Regions from separate parts of the Homo sapiens genome. Here region 2 is linked to region 1. Evidence: promoter capture Hi-C in human tissues and cell types (Jung and others, 2019). All regions are on one chromosome and are shown on one strand. Each heading gives the region's core, a stretch centred on a gene start or on the middle of the fragment in contact. The rest is flanking DNA. Distances are from core to core; before and after follow the strand shown.

The links. Contacts are between HindIII fragments. The study calls those that stand out against the background at their distance.
Region 2: a fragment that was not itself captured here is called in contact with the fragment with the promoter of SERTM1 in region 1 in 1 of the 25 tissues and cell types used here (hippocampus).

Annotation. Positions count from the first base shown.
Region 1 is chr13:36,670,004-36,676,568 of GRCh38, reverse strand. It overlaps SERTM1 (serine rich and transmembrane domain containing 1), which reads right to left and starts at 2,549. Exons shown (of 2, transcript NM_203451.3): 1 at 2,385-2,549. It overlaps LOC102723490 (a long non-coding RNA gene), which reads left to right. Exons shown (of 7, transcript XR_001749825.2): 7 at 1,142-1,224. The HindIII fragment of the contact is 7,784 bases long and covers 1-5,123 here.
Region 2 is chr13:36,731,932-36,738,496 of GRCh38, reverse strand. All of the region lies in intron 3 of LOC102723490 (a long non-coding RNA gene), which reads left to right. Among named protein-coding and RNA genes, the nearest start is that of SERTM1, 61 kb to the right of the region's middle. The HindIII fragment of the contact is 3,554 bases long and covers 1,612-5,165 here.

The DNA of each region.
Region 1 (6,565 bases), core at 1,300-3,799:
AGAAATGTATTTTTTCAGATTCTTAAATTACTACTTTAAAAACTCAGATGAACAAAACACAAAAATTCAGCCATAATTTTATTTTTCACTTCTTCATTATAACTAATTAAGTATAAAAATGCTCGTACAAACTGTACAAACTTTAAACAAAAAAAGGACCCCCCAAAAATGTTGTAATATAAGTATAGGGAGAAGAGTAAGCCAGAGAAGAACGATCATCAAATGAGCTCAGACTTTATCTAGTATAGAGGCTGAATCAGAATTTTGCCTGTGATGAGTTAGTCTTTCTTTTTTATAATGAACGTATAACTCCAAGTTTGCTTAAAGGTTAGTATGGTTGGTCATTCTTACAAATCAGCTCTGTCATTCTTCATCTGCCCTCACTAAAAAAGAACAAGAAAAAAGAAAAAGAAACCCAGGAAACCTGCAAATAAACTCTCTCGTGGATTTGATGCCACATGCAATCACACAGTTATTTATATCTTAACCCCTGATGTGCTTGTCCAAATCGTAGACATCTAGTAAAATCTGTTGAACTGAACGAACTAACAGCAAGGGAGAATGGACTCAATCTTACCTTACAACAGGTTTCTTTAATGAGAACAATAAATGTGTGCGTTCAGCTCTTCAAAGCACTTTGCCTTATATAGAGGAATCAAAAATAATAAGCCCCTCAAAGCCAAAACACAAAAATGGAATATCCCACCCACGTGCTGGATCTCAATATTTCCAGATTACTTCTGAGGTTGGCAGAGGCTTCGGCGGCCCTACGATGTCCAGCATTTAAAGGTGACTAGGGCATGGGCTGAGGGAGGCTCTGAGACCAGGCAGCCTCACTCACAAGCCCTCCAAAAGGCAATTTGCTTTACAGATCAACTAAAAACGGTGTTCTGAGTGTGGTGGTGGCGGGGGAAAAGACACTACTCTACTTAGTAAAATGAAGAGAATTTAGTTACAAAAAAGATATTTAAGAACCTCTATGGGCATGATCACAAATAAGCTGAGACACCCAGACTAGTTGTATAATTCAGCAAATTAAATATTGTTTTTTTCAGAGGGTGCATGGGGCTCCGCAAGACTGCATTAAGAGACAAACCCTTTAAGAAAAGACTGTCACTTGTGCCTCTTTTCCTGTTGACAGGCTGTTGTCTGAACAATGAATCCTGGAAGCACCTAGGAGAAGGCACCTAGGAGAAACGTCTTAGGGAGTAGTCCCGCGGGTCCGCCCCAGGACAGTAACGCTGTCAGTTTCCCCGCCCTTTGCACCTGTAGTGCAGACGGTACCAAATGCGATGGCTTTGAGACGTCCTCTAGACATCGGAGCCCATCATTTACCACAAAGAACACTGAAGTACTTACTTTAGCAGAACATTTTCCGAAGAAAAATTAACAGGGAGAGGAAATGAAGGACACTAACAAACAGACCCCATCTCTAGAGTCTGAGATCAAACCCAAGTCCGATGGAGCCCGGGCATCTGGTGGAGGAAAGCGGGCAGGCATAGCCCCAATCCTGGTCCTCAACAAGATATTTCTGTGAATGAATCCCTCTGCTCCCTGGAGGAGGGCACATTACATATCCCTTTCCTAAATCAGAACTGAAGCAATTTGCCCATCATTCGCACACCTCGACAGGGAAAGGCAGGATTCCAGTGTCTCATCAGACCCGGGAAGAGGGGAAGGGTCGCTGGCGCAGTTACCTACTGGGTTTCCGGGAGCTAGGGAAAACGCCCCTGGGAAACGCAAGTGTTCAGCGCCACATAAAACTTCCCCGGATTTAGGGCCACCCTAAGACGGGCGAAAAGACTCTCCAGCGCCTTAGCAGGTGCAAAGCCAGCTGTCAGTGTGCGCATGGCGAGTCCCCGTTCCCGAGAAGGGACGCAAATGACCCTAGAAAATCAGACAGGAGCAAAACAAACCCAAGAATGACCCTCCACACACCACAAAGGCAAAAGCAAACAGAAGGCACCTAGACACACTCTGCAAAGTGTAGAACTGTCTACACTTGCATGGAGGAATCCACCTTGCAGAGCGAGGGTAGACCTTCCCGGTTCCCAGTGTCTGGGACCGAGGCAGGTCAACACGGGGCCAAGGACATTGCACTCAGGGCCCCTCGCGGCTCCTCCTGCAGCCCGTGGAGTCACCCCAAGACTCGGAGAGCCGGGCTGCGATTGCTTCTCGGGACAGTAAGGACACCTCAAAAGGGATAGATTTGGGGGTGTTTCTCAGAAAGGAGCCACATCTCCGGGAGCCCAGATCTCGGGGGAGAGTCTGGGAGGCGGCTCGCCTCCAGGACCCGAGGCCGCCCCAGGCAAGGAGTGGGGCGCTCTCCGCGTAGGGCAAGTTCACCCCCAGAGCTCGGGACCCTGCAAGTTTCCCTCACTGACCTGCAGGTCAGGACACGCGACTTCCCCGGCAGGTCTCCTGCGCTAGCGGTGGGGCGGTGCTCCGGTCTGGACGATACGCGCCCGCGAAGCCGTCCTCGGGAATGTTGGGCGCAGCGGCGCGGCGCGCAGTCTGGGCGCACGGCGGACAGCAGGCGCAGCGGGAGTGGATCCGGGCTGCCGGCCCCGCACAGCCCGCGCGTCGTCCCTCCGCCCCTCCTGGCCGCACAACCAATGGCCGCGAGCGGGTCCCACTCCTCACCGCCCCCTAGTCTCGGCTCTAGCGGGCGCTTGGCTCTAGGACGGCGCCCAGCTCGGGCGAGGGAGGAGCTTGCGCCACCATTGGAAAATCTCGGAGGACGAGGAGGCGTTGCGCAGGGAGCCCATCTGGGGAAGGCAGGTGTAGTGGGTGAACTTTTTTGTGTGTCGGGGGGAGGAGGGGGGAGTGGGGAGGAGGGCAGTTTTTTTAGGGCTCAGGGGCCTTTCTCTGCAGATGAAAGCATCCACTTCTTGCCAACTTTCTCCTCCTCTTACATCTTTTATGAGTTCCTCGCAGCCCCCACCCAAAACAACTACTCTGGGTGCATCATCGCAAGCCCAGCTCTGACTGAGTTGCGTGGGGCATGGCCTCATCCTGTGATGAGCTTAACCACAGACAGCCCTTGCTCAGCCTTCGCCGCGTGCGCCTCTGAATCCTATACCAAATCATTAAATGAGTCGAATAGGATTGGAGTTTCTGTCATTGCCAGGGAGACAGTCAGTCATGAGTCCCTACTAGGGAACTGGCGTAGAGAGTCATATATCGTAACAGAACTCCGGAAAAGGAGGCTTTAACTGATCCGACCAACTTCAGTTACCAGTCAGTGCTGCTACCTTGACCAGAAGACTCTCTCTCTGTATTCCTGTTTTTCAGCTGGAAAATGAGAGACTTCGATCACTTGGTGGCTGCGGTCTGTTTCACTCTGACATTCAACAATATTGTTGCTCTGTGGCCTGTAAAGGGCTGAACTCCTGGGAAGTGTTGGTGTGGCTACCTGTTCCTTGAGCCCCTACTCCATCTGGTTCTGCTGTCTTCACCGTGAGACCTATTAGTGGCCAGAAAAGCAAATCATGCACAATACAGAATCAGGCCACCCAAGTCTCAGTGACCACCAACACATGCACGTATACTGCCACCCACCAGGGCCCGGCTCCTAGGAGCCTGCTACTTCCACCCATGTTCAATTGTTCTCCACGTAGAGATAGGCAGGGGCACCTGGCTTAACTCTGAAGCTCCGTGGTACATAAGTAAAGGCTCTCTGTCTCTCCCCTTCCTTCTCTAGGGCAATTGTGGGTGGGTGTGAATCTCTCTTATGTGGATCCTTCTGTGCCTGATGTAAAATGCAGGAGGATGGAATGAGCTGTGTTGTCAAGAGGGCAGATTCAGAGAACCACTTCCCTCCGGGCACACTTGGATTGGCTTCCTGAATTTCACCTGTTCATGTGCCATTCTCATGAGTTACCTTACATCCATCTACAGTCTGCTCCATTATGCACTTAGTAAATTTTACCTTAGATTTTTACTTGGCTTCATCGTAAGCAATAATATCTATGAAATTATTGGTTTGTGAGATACCAGTTGTATTTAATATTTTAATGCACAATGAAATGAAGGCATAAGTCTTCCATGCTAAAATCATTCTGAATATCACTGGTTGTTCTCACAACTCACTTTTTGAAACACTAAGGTGTATGGGGGGGCAGTTAGAACTGTTGACCTTCAAAACAGTGGTCCTCAAAATTTCTTTGTGCATAAGATTCCTAGGCCCCAACCCTATTGTCTGGTTCATTCATACTCTACATGTTTGTTTGTTTGTTTTGTCTCTCCCCTTCCTTCTCCAGGGCAATTGTGGGTGGGTGTGAATCTTTTCTATGTGGATCCTTCTGTGCCTGATGTGATCCTTCTGTGAGGAGTCTTGCTCTGTCGCCCAGGCTGGAGTGCAGTGGTATGATCTCGGCTCACTGTAATCTCCACCTCCCTGGTTCAAGCAATTATCCTGCTTCAGCCTCCCAAGTAGTTGGGATTACAGGTGCCCACCATCACGCCCAGCTAATTTTTGTATTTTTAGTAGAAACGGGGTTTCTCAATATTGGCCAGGCTGGTCTTGAACTCCTGACCTAAGGTGATTGGCATGCCTTGGCCTCCCAAAATGCTGGGATTATAGGCATGAGCCACCGTGCCCGGCTCATACTCTACATGATTCTAATACAGTTTGTCTATTGAGAAACCCTGCCAACATCCTGCAGTTGTCAGAGAGGGGAAAAGAACTGTTGATTGCTGGGCAGTCTTTTTATTTAGACTGGTATAGCAGTTTTCTTTTCCTTGTCTTACCTTTGGTGACAAGGTAAGGTAAGCTTTCTTTCCCTCGGTGTCTATTTTATAAGAGGGTGGATTCAGAGAACTACTTCCTTCCAGGCACACTTGGATTGGCTTCCTGAATTTCACCTGTTCATGTGCCACTCTCATGAGTTACCTTACATCCATCTACAGTCTGCTCCATTATGCACTTAGCAAATTTTACTAAGTGCTTTATAAAGCTTTTCTTGACATTTCCTAAACTTAGTTTCCTAGTTTAGTTCCTAAGTTTCCTAGTTTCTTAGTTCCCATAGTTTCCTGGAGTTAACAAATGACCGGAAACTGGGTGGCTTAAAATAACGGAAATGTATTCTATCTCAGATCTGGAGTCCAGAAATGAAATTGTTGGTTGATTCCTTCTGGAAGCTCTAAGAGAATCCAATACAGAAGTCCCCGCATTGTTCATGGGGTATGTGTTCCAAGGTCCCCAGTAGATGCTTAGAACCACAGATAGTAGTGAGCCCAGTTCTGTTCATCAGAACACATTTCTGTTCATGTCTTCCACCTGCAAGCTTAATGCCCTTTTCATCTTAACTAAGCTCTTATCCCATGCTGTATATGAGAGGCTGTAACTTTTGCAGTTTGAAGTGTGACAGCAAAACTGCACAACTTTCTTTTCCCTTCTTCACAATTTCACGAATAGAAGATTCCTTCTTACTGTAGATCTAAGCAACCTCAGCCTGTGTGTTTTTTCTTTCCTTATTAAGAATTTTCACCTTTTCACTCAAAGGAAGCACTTTACAGTTTTTCTTTGGCATACCCGACTTGCCAGTATCACTACTCTTGTATTTTGAGGCCATTACAAAGTCAAATAAACTTTTCTTGAAGACAAACAGTGTGATTCCATGACAGCCAATTTGATAACCAAGATGACTACTAAGTGGCTAATGGGTGGGGAGCTTAGACACTGTGCATACACCATTATATCCACAGGAGGTATCCATACTGGACAAAGATGATTCATATTTCGAGCGGGATGAAGCAGGACAGTGCGAGATTTCATTACACTACTCAGAATGGTAGCGACTTAAAACTTATGAATTGTTTATTTCTGGGATTTTCCATTGAATATTTTCAGATCACAGACCTGTTACCTGAAACCGTGGAAAGTGAAATCTCAGATAAAAGGGGGACTACTGGGCATGCCTTTTTCTCAGCATTCAGAAATGTTTGGTGTTCCTTGGCTTGTAGGTAGATGCATTGCTGCAGTCCCTGCTTCTGACTTCAAATCATCTCCCTGATATGTTTCTTCTTCCCTTCTTTTCTAAGGACACTTTCATTGGATTTAGGGCCCACCATAATCCAGAATGATCTTATCTTGAGACTCTCAATTAAATTACGTCTGCAAAGACTGTTTTTTCCAAATAAGGTCACATTGACAGGTTCTAGATGTACATATATTTTGGGGGAGGCACCATTCAACCCACTACAGTTAGTATCAGTGATTGCCCAACCCCTCTGCTTTTGTGTGAGGGTGTCCTACCTCCTCAGGGTGACATTGGGTAAACTCTAGTGATTTTAGGCTTTTGGGTAGCTGCCAAAGTCAACAGGGCCACTTTGCACTTCTCAAAAAAAAAAAAATACTGGCCATTTAAAAATGACACAGGGAAAACATGTAAATGTGTTTTGTGGTCTTACTTTGTAAACTCAGTGGTTCTGTAATTCTTCTTTCTCTTTATCTTTTTGGCTTAGGGTAGGGTGCCTTGATAACATCCTCTGTTTGATCTGGTACAAAACTCCTTTATTGCCTCTGTATTAGTCTGTTCTCATGCTGCTAATAAAGACACAC
Region 2 (6,565 bases), core at 2,139-4,638, 61 kb before region 1:
CTCAACTTCATTCTCACCAAGAACAACTTCATTTCTGAAGTTGCAAAGGTCAATATGAAAATAACCTGTGACCACAGCCTTTTGGTTCTCCAGCTTTTACCCACCATGCCCAGCGAGTCCTTTGGTTCCCAAGCTCCCATTCCCCTCATTGCTTCGCTTCCTTCTATTCCATCCCTGGCTAGAAACGAGGGAGCATCTCTCAAACTGTTCTCCTGCCTGGGCCTTCATTTCTGCCAGTGGTATCACCCTGCTGTGTTCTGACCATGGTTAATGTAAAACTGGCCTTTTCTGTCCCTTGAAGCAGGTACTGAATGTTGTTGGAGGAAATCACAGGTCGTTGTCACCACATACTTTTGGTCTCCAATCTCAGTGAAATGCTCAAAGCTATCCTTTGGCGATTCTCCAGGGAACAGCCTCTTGCTTTCTTCCCAGGGATTCTTCCCTCTTCCTTAAGCCCCAACCTCCCTGATGACATTTCCTTTCTCTCGGCAGATGACACTGCCTCATGCTTCATTCACAGTGAAAGGCAGACGCTTTCAGGCACAAATATCACCACTTCTATTCCTCAGGGTTCCTGCTTTTCCCGTGAGGCCACTTGGTGGACACATATACTGAGATCTCAGCTAGACAGAAGGGATTTGTATTTAACTGAGGCAGAGTCAGGGTCATTATATCAGGATGTCGGAAAACATCTTTTTGCAGCTACCTTTGTTCTGTTTCATAGCAACTAGCTTTCCAGCTCACAGATAATGAAAATCAGGACTGGGTAAGAGAGTGGGTTATTTACTCCACGGGTATTTGTTGAGCACACATTATGGAAATAGCCCTTAGGCCCCATGGACCCAATGATATCAACAGTGTCTCATTCACGTTTCATAGATGCTAACTGAATGAGTGAATTAGATAAATGAATGAACAAATGTGGTAAACAATCCCTGAAGTGAAGTAATGAATGAAAAATTAAGTGCAAGTTGAGTATCCCTTATCTAAAATGCTTGTGACTGTGTTTCAGATTTCAGTATTTTCAGATTTTGAGTATTTGCATATACGTAATATCTTGGAGATCGGACTTAAATCTAAACACAAAATTTATTTACATTTCATATACACCTTATATGCATAGCCTGAAGGTAATTTTATATGATATGTTTAATATTTTGTGCATAAAACAAAGCTTGTGCTAAGTACTTATGTGTGGAACTTTCTGCTTGTGGTGTCAAGTCAGTGCCCAAGAACATTCAGATTTTGGAGCGTTTCAGAATTTGGGTCTTCAGATTAGGCATGCACAACCCGTATAAGATGCGTAAGAAATTTTTCTGCTCAGAAGGAGCATATACTCTAATTTAGAAATACCTTAATATGACATTATATAATAAAGTTTTGAAATGTGTGGAATTAAAAATTAGAGACAAGATAATGTATAAGAAGGTGCTAATTATATAGTCCAGGCAGGGTAATTCAGGCAGAAAAGTTCTTTTTCCTTTTTTAATACAGGAGAGATCACATTATTCAGCTTTGCATTTTCTAGGTTCACAATATATCTCAGGAAAGAGAAAGAATAAATACTTCATGTTGCTAGAGAAAGGGGATGTTGGACCATGAAATTTAAGGCAATATAGAAAGAAAAAGGGAATTTCTTCTAGAGAGCACGGCTAAAGGAAGACCATAAAAAAGGCAATGTGAAAATTGTGGGCAGTGAAAATTGTATCTGGGGAATGACAAGATCAGTTTACCTTGTCCATCAAATTTGATAGATAGAACGTGTGTGTGTGTGTGTGTGTGTGTGTGTGTGTGTGTGTTACAGAAATTCCAACTTAGGGACTAGTTTGTTAGAAATTTAGTAATACTATTGGGACCCACCTTAGAGCACAGTTATGATGGTGCACTCATATTGGAAGAAAAACACTTTTGCTTATGATTATATCCTGGGAGCTTGCAAGAATAAGTCATCTATTCTTGTTCAATAGTTAGTAAAGAGTTGATGTCCCTAATAATTACACAGAAAACTTGCAGAGCCTCTTTCGGATGCGAGCTGATGCCCTAAAAGCTTTGGGACATATAAATATTTACAAGAAAATCTCAGGGTGGGCAAATGAAGGCATGCATAAGCAGTTTGTAACACATAAAAACTCGATTTATAAATATTTCATGTTAATATGTGGTCACCACCAGGGGGCGAATTCCTTTCCACTTGCAAAAATAGCTGCCAGAGGAAAGGAAAACTGCTTCCACCAGAGCTGGTGGAGAACAAAAATCCCTTCTCTGCTTTACAGAGTCATAGAAGATAGTGAAGGTCTCCTCTTTTGCCAGGGGTAGGTTTATATAGGTTTCTAACATTAATTGCATTTCCCCCATAAAAATGTCATAAATAATGGTTAGGTTTGCAGGATGATTCCAAAAGCAAAAAATTAAAATATATTTTAATACTTTTAAAAAGCCACATATACACACATATATGAATGTATTTATATGAATATAGATAATTATGTATAACATAAAATTATTTATAATTTTATGGAAAATTTTATTTGCCTAAGTACAAACTTTCAGAACTCAACGCATTTATATGAGAATGCCTATTCTTTCAAGGCATTAAATAAATGCCAAATGAACAGCGGGTATGTAGTCACCCTTAAATATTTTCCTATCTTCTTAAATGTAGAATTACTTATTAAAGAAACAATAAAGAATTGCCAATACATTTCAAGATAACCTATTTTTTCCTTTTATGAAGGAATAAGTGTTTAGCTTTCTTTTTGCAGCTTGATAAAAAGAGACTAGCCTCCTCGCCTTCATCCCCATCCCCAAGCACTTGATCGCCATTGTCTGAGACTAAATTATAAATGTTCCAGCTAAAGTTAATAGTGAGCTGTGCTGTGCTTATCAAACAGCTTCAGGCTCTGCCAATACCCTCTGTACTACAAACACAAAGGGACATTCATTATATGTCAATTTTTTCAGCCTAATTTGCTCCCAAAGCTATCACAGGTAGAAATTACTGTTATTAGTATCATCTTCAAACAGGAAAGACAGACGGTATTAGCAAGGTCCTTTACCTGTTTTGTAGCAGTGCTTTGACATTACTGCTCAGTGTGACCAATGTCTGTGGCCCTCCCTTCCCATGGAGACCCTGCCCTTTGCAGATTTCAAAATCAGTCTGGTACCTCCCTCCACTTAGAGCCAGTTGGGTTATAAGCCACTAATGAGTATTTTGTTCCTTCTTAAGCAAACAGAAGAAACATAGTTCTCATCCATCTGCTATGGACTGAATTTTACCTCCCTAAATTCATATGTCAAAGCTCTAACCCCCAATGCATTTGGAGATGGGGGCTCTGGGTGATCTTTAGGTTTAGATGAGGTCATAAAAGTGGGCCTCCTGATGGATTATGTCCTCATGAGAAGAGGAAGAGGCCTCAGAGCTTGCTCTCTGCCATGTGAGGACACAGCAAGAAGTGTACCATCTGCCACCAGGCAGGTAGCCTTCACCAGAACCTGACCATGATGGCTCCAGGATCTCAGACTTCCAGCCTCCAGAACCGTGAGGACTAAGTGTCTGTTGTTAAGCCACCCAGTCTACGGCATTTGGTTAAGGCAGCTAAGACAATAATATCTGTAATATCTCAGATCAACTTTTTTCCTTCAGTATATGTTTAGTAGGAAGCATTAGACACATGAAACCCTATTCGTGTAAGGAGTACTACTTCACTATGAAGAGTGACTCATCATCCAATCTGGAGCTCTCAATTAGGCATGATAAAATTGGCTGCAGGCAGAACCTCCAATGGGTCAAGGGGCAGCCTGAAATTGTATCAGTGTTGTATAAAAGTGCATTTTTGCAGGGAGGCAACTAGAGCGTCCTCAAATTTTCTGGTTAGAGTCCCTATGAAGTTTAACAGCCACTTATCTAGATTTGTTTCTCCTCTGACTTTTTGTTTTTCTCATTGAGCTGACATCTGATAAAGAGTATCAACTCTAGGATTATAAACATTGGGGTTGAAAGCTTGATTTCTTTGCCACTTAATAGCTGTGTAATAAGGGCAAGTTTCTTTATTTCTTTCTTTATCACGCAGTTTCCTCACATGTTGTATTGGCTGTTCTTGCATTGCTATAAAGAAATACCTGGGCCGGGTGTGGTGGCTCACGCCTGTAATCCCAGCACTTTGGGAGGCCGAGGCAGGTGGATCACGAGGTCAGGAGATAGAGACCATCCTGGCTAACACGGTGAAACCCCGTCTCTATTAAAAATACAAAAAATTAGACGGGCATGGTGGTGGGCACCTGTAGTCCCAGCTACTCGGGAGGCTGAGGCAGGAGAATGGTGTGAACCCAGGAGGCGGAGCTTGCAGTGAGCCGAGATGGCGCCACTGCACTCCAGCCTGGGCGACAGAGCAAGACTCTGTCTCAGAAAAAAAAAAAAAAAAAAAAAGAAATATCCGAGACTGGGTAATTTATAAAGAAAAGAGGTTTAATTGGCTCACAGTTCACAGGCTGTACAGATAGTATAGAACTGCCATCTGCTTCTGATTAGGCCTCAGGGAGCTTGTACTCATGACAGAAGGTGAAGGGGGAGCAGGCACGTCACATGGTGAGAGCAGGAGCAAGAGAAAGGTAGGGGGAGGTGCCACACACCTTTAAGCAACCAGATCTCATGTGAACTCACTTATCACCAAGGGATGGCCTAAGCCACTCATCAGGGATCCACCCCCATGATCCAAACACTTCCCACCAGGCCCCACCTCCAACATGAGGGTCTACATTTCAACATGAGACTTGAGTGGGGACAAACATCCAAACTATATCACCTGTGAAATGGAGTGTTAACTAATTCCAACCTACAGGGCAGGTGGGATTTTCAATGAGCTATAACAGGGGTTCTAAAATTTGAGGGTGCATCAGAATCACCTAGAGGGCTTGTTAAACCCCACACTACTGGCTCCCACCCCCAGAATTTCTGACTCGGTGGAGGATGAAGCCTGAGGATTGGCATGTCCGACCAGTTCCATGGTGATGCTCAGTGAGTCCATGAGCAACGCTGCTGGTCTAAAGACCACACTTTCAGAACCACAACTTTCCTCCTGAAACACTCATGGAAACCTGGCCCTCGTGATTTATTTGTCTGTTTCTTTGCCTGATACCTGGATAAATCCTTCTGTTGCTCTGTGGTGCAACCCTTCATTTCAGTATCCAACATCTGAAGTTCCAGCTCAGACCTTCTGAGCCAGCAAGACTGCTGGGTTCAGTCTGACCTCACTGGTAAAGAACAGAGTGGGTTTTCAATGTCTAATAGAAATACACTGCATGGCACATGTAATTCTAAATTTTCTAGAGGCCACGTTAAAAAAAGACTAGTAAAATGAATTTTAGTTACATATTTTATTTAACCTAATATATCATCAATGATAGGATATTATCATATTAACATATTAACGATATGGACATTATTAATAAAATATTTTTCTTTTTTTGAACAGTCTTAGAAATCTGGTATGTTCTGGTATGTATTTTACCTTTCTAGCGCATCTTCATTCAGACTAGCCCCATTTCAGGTGATTAAGAGTCATATGTGGTTCGTGGCTACCAGGCTGGGTGGCACAGTCTTAGAGTATTTGTAAGTGGGAGAAAACTGCTGTGTATTCTCAGAGTAAAAAACTCCCCAGAGAGTACTGGGTTCTTTATGTTATAGACTCTTCTGTCACCAGAGTACCATAACCTCTCCAAAGGCCAGGTGTCCTTGCGTGAGAAAACTGAAGGCCTGGGCCTGGGATATTTTTATAGGAAGTTGCACATTTCACTAGGCAAAGAAAACATTCTTAGATTTCTCTTTTAATGCCCCTAAAATAGTCACATTTCCAAAATAAGGCTTTTCTGCTTTGAAATTGAACTCATAACATACCCACTGATTCTGATATTTCAGTTGGGTCCAGGAGTGGTGAATTCACTGCTTTTAATTCTTCCTGGGAGAAATTCTGGGAGACCATTTTGAATAGGCAAATTGCCACGTAGGTAAATTAGAGTCACTGTCTTCGAATTCAGCTTCCCCCAGACAGCAATAGCCAGTGCTTACCCCCAGGAAGTTAGAGCCTACCCACCCCAGAGAATTTTCACAGCAGATGTGGTTGAGTACTTCATAATGAAAATGCTCAGTCTAAATTTACGTTTTCTTCTTAGACAACACTGAGACTTATTTTTGCCATTTTTTCTCATTTCTGCGAAAGCAGTTCTTAACCCATAATATTACCTTTGTAAATATCTCAAACTGAAAATCATTTAAATTTTGTTTCTACGGAAAAGTGTTGGCGATTCATAAAAGAATAGTTGTATTTTCTAAGCTTTCCAGTATTACTGAAATCCATTTGGAAAATGTGACTATATTTTATAGACAGAATGTCAGATGTTTTAGATTTGCTGTGGAATTGCTAAAATTATGCCAGTAGTTGAGAATAAGTTGCCTCTAATTTTTTCTACCTGAACCTGTAACCACATCTAGGCATTTTTCAGGCACATAGTTTATCAGGGAAAAGTAATATTATTATCCTATTGAACCATATAAGACTACTGTTTTTGT